Linked DNA regions of Homo sapiens: region 2 is linked to region 1. The links are contacts of gene promoters, found by promoter capture Hi-C in human tissues and cell types (Jung and others, 2019). All regions are on one chromosome and are shown on one strand. The core of a region is centred on a gene start or on the middle of the fragment in contact, and the rest is flanking DNA. Distances in the headings are between cores, read along the strand shown. Region 1 holds the start of HRCT1 (histidine rich carboxyl terminus 1). Region 2 overlaps TLN1 (talin 1).

Region 1 (3,436 bases), core at 683-3,182:
ATCGACACTGCACGGCAGCCTAGGGTCAACTTTCCCAACCCAGAAACCTCAGGTGGGAGAAATCAGTGTGAATTTGCCTCCCTCTCTCTCTCACTCCCTCCTCCTGCAGCCCTCACAGAGAATCCACTGGGAAATAGAAAGGAAAGAGGACATTCTATTCCAGTGAGTCACCAGGTCCCTGAGTCTCTGGCCTGCTCTCCAGCCCCTCCCCACTGCCTCTCCTGGCCCCCAGTCCTTGTCTTCCCCCAATTCCCACCTCAGCTCACAGGCACAGGCTGAAGGCCTCAGAGCCAGGCTTCCTTCCTCGCTGTGGATCCCACTAGCTGTTCACAGAGCATATTCCAACGAGCCTCCAGGCTTCGGCACGTGGGCATCTCTGTTATCCACCCCATTGCAGAGAAGAGGAAAGTGAGACCCCAGCATTCTCCCAAGGCCATCCAACACCCTGCACCCCAGCACCACAGCCTCCACTTTAAAGAACTCCACTCGCTGCCTCCCAGCCCTCCCACCACACACAGGCACCAGCTGGGGCAGGATGGCTGAAAACGCAAGGCTTGGAGAAGAAACCCTGATCCAATTACCAAGGAAACTGGATTCAAGGCAGCCTGTGGATGGGGCTTCCTCGAGTTTCAGAGCTCAGTCTGCCCTGGACATGGGCTGAAAAAAGTACAGGGGCAGAGCCCTGGGGAGCCAGGCTCGCAGCGGCTCCAACCTTCCTCTCCCCGAGGACTGTCCCGCGGAAGGCCAGAGCCCTGCTGGTGCACACAGGACCTGCTGTGGGCAGGGTTTTGTGCAAACCCTGAATCCTCCCTCAGAGCTCAGACAGAGCCCACCCAATTCTTCCCACTCCACAACCAGCCCCTAAGAACCAGACAGAAGCCGCCTGCTCCAGCCACACGCTTCCCATCAGAGAGGGAGGTCCCAGGGCAATGAGGACACAGGCCAGGCAGCTCCCTCCCTCCCACTATGCTGCAATCAAGAGCCTCTTCACAAAAGCTTCTTAGTGGTTTTTATTTTCTTGGACTAAGGCACCGATGAATTGACTGTGCAGCCTCACACTGCCTTCTCCAAACCAAAAGGACATTCTCAGGGCCTCTCCCAGTGCCCTGCCCGCCAGAGGCCTGCAGCAGCCTGATGAGGAGGTCAAGACGGGCACTTCACATCCACTTGTGTGCTGGCTCTGCCAAGACACGCTTGTCATTTCTGGGGCTCACTGGGAGTCACTGTCACAAGACGGGCTGTCCAGCCCCGAAAGAGCACCCTTGCTCTCCACTCCCCAAACCCTTCAGCACTGCAGACCCAGTGTTCCTCCATTCTCTGCTGCCATAGTACACTGGGGCATGCCATGCAAATGCAGCTGGAGCAAGCCCCAGTCTATTGTTCCCCTCGTTCACCCCAGAGATGCATCCTTCCACATGGAAACATGGGGTCCACTTGTCCTGGGAACAGATGGGAGGGCAGGGGCAGCTGCTGTCCACAGGCACCGGCGACAGCAGCCTCAGCGAGCGTGGCGGGGATGGTGGCGGTGGGGGTGGTGGTGGTGGTGGAGGTGGTGAGGGGTGTGGCGGGGGTGGTGGTGGTGGTGGAGGCCCACATTCGGCACATGAGATACGTGGCCAGGATGACGGTGATGGTGAAAGATTCCCAGGTGGCCCCGCCGCCGGAAGGGCCAAGGCTGGGCCCGGCGGACTCGGTTTCCCCCTGCAGCTGTACGGTTCCTCTCCACGTCACAGTCCTGCCGTCCGTGGAAAAGGCAGGTGGCCAGCAGCAGCAGCAGCAGCAGGACCGCCACAGCAGCACCTGTGATCCATCCCACGAGGGCTGTGCTCCCCAGGAGGCCCAGCATCTGGGAGCCGGACAGTCCCTCTCTGCCCAGCAGCTCCTCACTCCTTTCTCCCCTTCAGCAGCCTCCGCTCAGCCCTCTCAGTCACTGAACTTTGTTGTCTCTGCTGCGGGCTGGAGAGCAGCCAGGGAATGTGGGCGAAGCCTGTTTGGACTTGCAACTGCTGGCCAAGGGTGAGGCCAGGCCGCTGTTAACTCTGAGGAGGCCTGGCAGGGAGGCCAGGTGGAGACAGAGGAGCTGTCAGGCTGGATCTGGTTGAGGGAGGAGCCCTGAGTCTAGAGGAAAGAAACCCTCCTGCTGCCTGGCTCAGTGACCTTCCCTCTCCGCACTTCAGTCTCCTCTCGTAGAGACTGTGTAGAACAGAGATGAACAACACGGGCTTTGGAGCCACGCCACTCACTTGCTCTGAGATTGTGCACAAGTTACTTAACCTCTCTGTCCTGTTTCCTCTTCTGTAAAATGGCTGATAACGGTTCCTTCCTCAGTAGGGTGTTCCGAGGACTAAAGGAGTTGAGATGCGTAAAGCAGCAACACCAGCTCCCGTCATGTTTGCAACTGATATTACTGCAATGGACTCCATGGCTCAGGAGACACTGACATCTGAGAGTCTGTGATTCCCTGTCCTGCAGCCTGCAGAGCCCTCCGGGGCTGAGTCAGGCTCTGTCAGATGAGCCATCCCGAGCTCAATGAGCTTGAGAAGCTCAGGGAGGCACCACAGGCAGATTTTGCCATCCAGGGAGGTCCTCCATCCGGCCTGTTCTGGGAGGCAGGAGGGTCTGGGTGTCCTCCCAAGCTTGCTGGGAGGCAAGAAGGAGGCCACTGAGCTCAGAGAGGGCAGGCACAGCCCAGCCTCCTGGTTCCCAGTTCAACAGTCTCAACTGGCCATAAATGGCATGCTCCTTGCTCTGTCACACCCTCCCTGCCCAGCAGTGATGAGTGCCATTCCTGCCTAGTGGAGCATTTACAGAGCGGCAGGATCTGAGCAGTACTGACTGTCCCTCCAAGCCCACCCGCCAGGCCCAAATCCCCTCTGTTCCTCCTGGGAGGCACCGTCCCATCCTGCTGACAGACCTCAGCAACAGGTGCTCACTCTCTCTCTGGGCAACCCTTTCTGCTGTGGGCATGCTGGGCTGTTCTCCAAGCTCTTCCTCACATGCAGTGGGGCTCCCCAAAGCCCCAGCTCTGTGTCTGGCTCTGCAGGGTCCCTCCAGGCTGAGTCCCCAGCCCCTCCCTCCAGGCTCATCTCCCTACCGCCTGGAGGAATGTCTGCAGACACCGCAAGGCTGGTTCTCTGAGTTCTGGCAGCACCTCCACCCTGTGATGTTGGGCAAACCCCTTGCCCTGATCCAGCCTGTCTCCTCTGCAGAACTCCCGGAGCAAGAGGTGACCTCCAGGGACCCTTCCCCCTCTGACCTCAGTCTGAGGTGAGTTCTCTTAGGGAGGCCTCAAACCCTTAATGAAAACCCTCACCAGATGAAAAGGCTAAACATTCCCTTCAACCAAACTGGGCTCAGGGGGCAGCAGGTCTAATGAATCCTGGCACTTCTTTGGCCCTTGGGGGAGCTACTTGAACTTTTAATGATGCTGGAGTAA
Region 2 (3,412 bases), core at 92-2,591, 180 kb after region 1:
GTCCCTTCACTTTCCCACCCCCACCCCAGTCTGATTTAGTGACTGACCACAGGCCCAGCTCTTCTCAACCTCCTATAGCCTGACCTGGCCTCTGACCTCACCCCATCATTCCCTGACTTAGCCACCATCCATGTAATCATTCCCCTTCCCCCAACCTGATGCAGTGACTGGTCATATATGTATCTTATGTATATGTATTTTTCCAAACACCATCATCACCAGCATTCTTTTTCTACACCCTGTCTTCTCATCCTTTTTCTACACCCTGTCTTCCCCATTCCCAGCCTGATGCAGTCACTAACCCAACCCCATCTGCCCCTAGTGGCTACTAATCATATACTCATACCCTTTTTCCCCACAGCCTAACCACATCCCGTAACCACAGCCTCATCCTCACATTCTCTGCCCAACCTGATCCTTTCCCCTCTTCCCAATTCGTCGCCTAAACTCAAGCTGCCCCAGCCGCTAAAGTGGCTGCTGATGATAGGAAGCTGTGGGACTCTAACCTGTCTACCTTAGTAGTTATTAGGTCCTGTCATTTCTACCTCCCCAAACTTGTTCTGAGTGACATCTTCCTCAATGCCATTCCAACTCCGGCTTCATTACCTTTAATTTGTACTAATACAGTGTCCTTCTAACTAATCTCCAAGGTAACTGCCAGAGTTATTTTTCTAAAATCCAGTTCCGGTTATGTCTCTTCTCTGCTCAAAGACTCCCTTGGCTTCCTTTTGTCCTCCAATAAGTAAAATTCCTCATACCCCTCTCCAGTCTTCCTCTGCCTTTCCATCCTAACCCTGACTTCCCCACCACTGCTCCCTTGCAGGTACCCCTGTGCTTCAACAGCCTGCCTGCTCACTTCCCTGAATGCTCCTCCACGATTTACTGCTTCTCCATCTTTGCTTATGCTATTTCTCTGCCTGGAGTGAAAACTACCCCTGACACATCTCCAGCTGGCTGGCGTAGTGGAGAAAGCTTGGGCTTTGCAGTCAGAAACCTGGGTTCGGATCCTGGCTTCACAACTTATTATTTGGAGAAGTATTTGAACAAGTATTTAACATCTTTGAGTCTGTTTTCTGATCTGTAAAAATGGAAATAATGACACCTACTGTAAGGATTAAATGAAATTATGTATACAATGCAAGTGACATAGTCAATAAATGGCAGATCACTATTGTTTTTTATTATCTCTATTTTTTAAAATTCTAGCTTCAAATGATACTTATCATGGAGACTTTTTGGTTCCCCTTCCCTGACCTAAAGGGATCTCTCTGAGCACACACCTTTTGGCTCTTACCACATCCTGCCCTCCGTTGTGATTCTGTACTTGGCTTATTCACTCATCTCGTGGACTGGGAGCCCTTTGAACTCAAAGGCTAGGTCTTACTGATCTTGGTCCCCAGCCACTGAAAGTTTGGCCCAGGGTCTTCCCCACAGCTGGCCCTCAAGGAATGCTTGCTGGGTGAATGGAGAATGTCTACATAATGGGAGGAGAGACACTGGGTGCCGGGTGTGCTTGTTATGGAGGTTATCTGTGCAAAAGCTGTGTGCATAGGATGGGCTCCCTAGGAGAAGATAATGCAGTCGTGATGGGATCTGTGTGGGGGCTGTGTGATTGAGATAATGTGTGTATAGAGAGAGTAAGGTAGCTTTGTGGGAAAGAGCTCTGCCTAGGCTGGGGTGCATCTGGGGAGAATGAGTGTGCATTTGAGTATGGAGGGGCTGTACCGGGGGAAGTTCTGTGCAGCCCTTCAGCTAGCTGCCCAGTCCAGCTCTAAATGAGTCTCCAGCAGCCTGAGGCCGGATATGTCAGTCTCACCCACAGCCCTCCCCCACTGCCAGCGGTTGCGGACTCAGAGGCCAAATTTGGTAACAGACTGAGTGTTACTCCCCCATCCCTCTTATATTCTGACTGTCTTAAGCTCTTTCCTTTTGTTCCTGTCTGTAACTCCCTATCTTTCTGCAATTCCCCTTGTGGGTATCTGCTCTGACTATATTCTCCAAGTACCCCAACTTTCTTAGCTCCAATACTCTTACATTCCATTCCTTGCTGGGATTTGACCTCCTGTCCTCCATTCCCCCCCTCCAATTGCCCAACTTCTTTGGAATGCATCGCAGGAATGTATTGAGGGAGGAGGAGTTCCCTGGGAGGGGGACACGGCAGTGGGGAGTTGCTGTTCCATCAAACACAATGGAAAAGGGAGCAAAGTTCTCAGGCCAAAGGAGGAATGAGCTAGCTTCTACTCATACTTGTAGCAGCCTTGTTCTTTGCCACCACCACCCACAATTCACTGATCAGTTCTTCGCGTCCACACACCCTCTTGTAGCTGTGTGAATATCCACTCTGGACCAGCTGGGGAGTAAGGGTAGGCATGACTCAGCTCCCTTATCGGGGTCTCACCAGAGGCTTCCGTGCTTGAGGAGGAAGGGGGTGTCTAAGTGTCCAGAGGAAATGGGGGGAGACATGCAGTTTCAGCTTAGTGTGAAGGGTCCTTTCAGTCCTGCTTCTTGGCTCCACAGACTCCTCCAGCTTCTCGGATCCACCAGCCCAGCCCTCATTCTTTCATGGTCAGCAACCCCATAGCCAGGTCTGTCCAGCTGGGACACAAGCGGATAGTAATAAGGTTGGGCAAAGTGCCCCAGGAGTGGGGAGGGGGCAGAGAGCTGGAACTGGGGAGACTGGGAGGGTCCTCTCTTATTGGGGAGTAAAGACAGAGAGCTGTGGTTCTTCTCTTTTGAGACTCTGGACTGCTTGTAAGGTCAGAAATGGTCTATCTGCCACTTGGTACCAGACCGCTGATCTAGACCATTTTCATACCTGCCTCCTGTCTCTTGTTTCTACTTAGATTTTCAATTCTCCTCATCCCATCTCTCCTAACTTCTTTACCCTCTACCCCTTCTTAACTTCCCTGGCTTTCAAATGCCTTCTGTATCCTAACACCCCCATCTCTGCTTTCCAGCCTTCCCCTCTCACCCTGCTTTTCCCCATTTGAGGCTTGTAGTTTGCCAGGAGGGGAATGGGCAGCTTGTATTTGCCCATTCTCTTAGTTAAGAGGCACCCAATCCCTGTACCAAGCAGGGGCACATCAGCAGCAGCCGGGCAGACTTGTCCTCTTGCAGCCTGTGCGCCACCTGCTGCCTCCAGTGCCTCCTCTAGCCTGCTGAGAGGGGGTGCCAGGAGGGTGGAAGAAGGTGGGGTAGGACTAGTATTCTGAGCTGCACTGAAAATACAGTCAGGGGAAGTGGGTGAGACAGAGCAGAATTCGAGACAGACTTGCTGAAGAGGAGAAAGCATGGGAGGAGTTGCAGGACTGAGTATTAACTTGATGACTTGGAACAAGCAAGGACTGAGTTACAGGGACTGGGTCCTTTCTCTGGCCTGTCTTGAAAATGTTTCCTGGCCTCCCAGAGTCTA

What was found. Contacts are between HindIII fragments. The study calls those that stand out against the background at their distance.
Region 2: a fragment that was not itself captured here is called in contact with the fragment with the promoter of HRCT1 in region 1 in 1 of the 25 tissues and cell types used here (hippocampus).

What each region holds. Positions count from the first base shown.
Region 1 is chr9:35,904,698-35,908,133 of GRCh38, reverse strand. HRCT1 (histidine rich carboxyl terminus 1) reads right to left here and starts at 1,932. Exons shown (of 1, transcript NM_001039792.2): 1 at 998-1,932. The coding sequence starts at 1,846. The coding sequence ends at 1,499. It overlaps LOC124902149 (a long non-coding RNA gene), which reads left to right and starts at 2,464. Exons shown (of 3, transcript XR_007061471.1): 1 at 2,464-3,436. RefSeq lists an enhancer at 2,385-3,266. The HindIII fragment of the contact is 3,304 bases long and covers 325-3,436 here.
Region 2 is chr9:35,726,811-35,730,222 of GRCh38, reverse strand. The region is part of intron 1 of TLN1 (talin 1); the gene reads left to right. Among named protein-coding and RNA genes, the nearest start is that of TLN1, 3.7 kb to the left of the region's middle. RefSeq lists enhancers at 2,316-3,029, 3,030-3,412 and a silencer at 3,017-3,311. The HindIII fragment of the contact is 3,260 bases long and covers 1-2,971 here.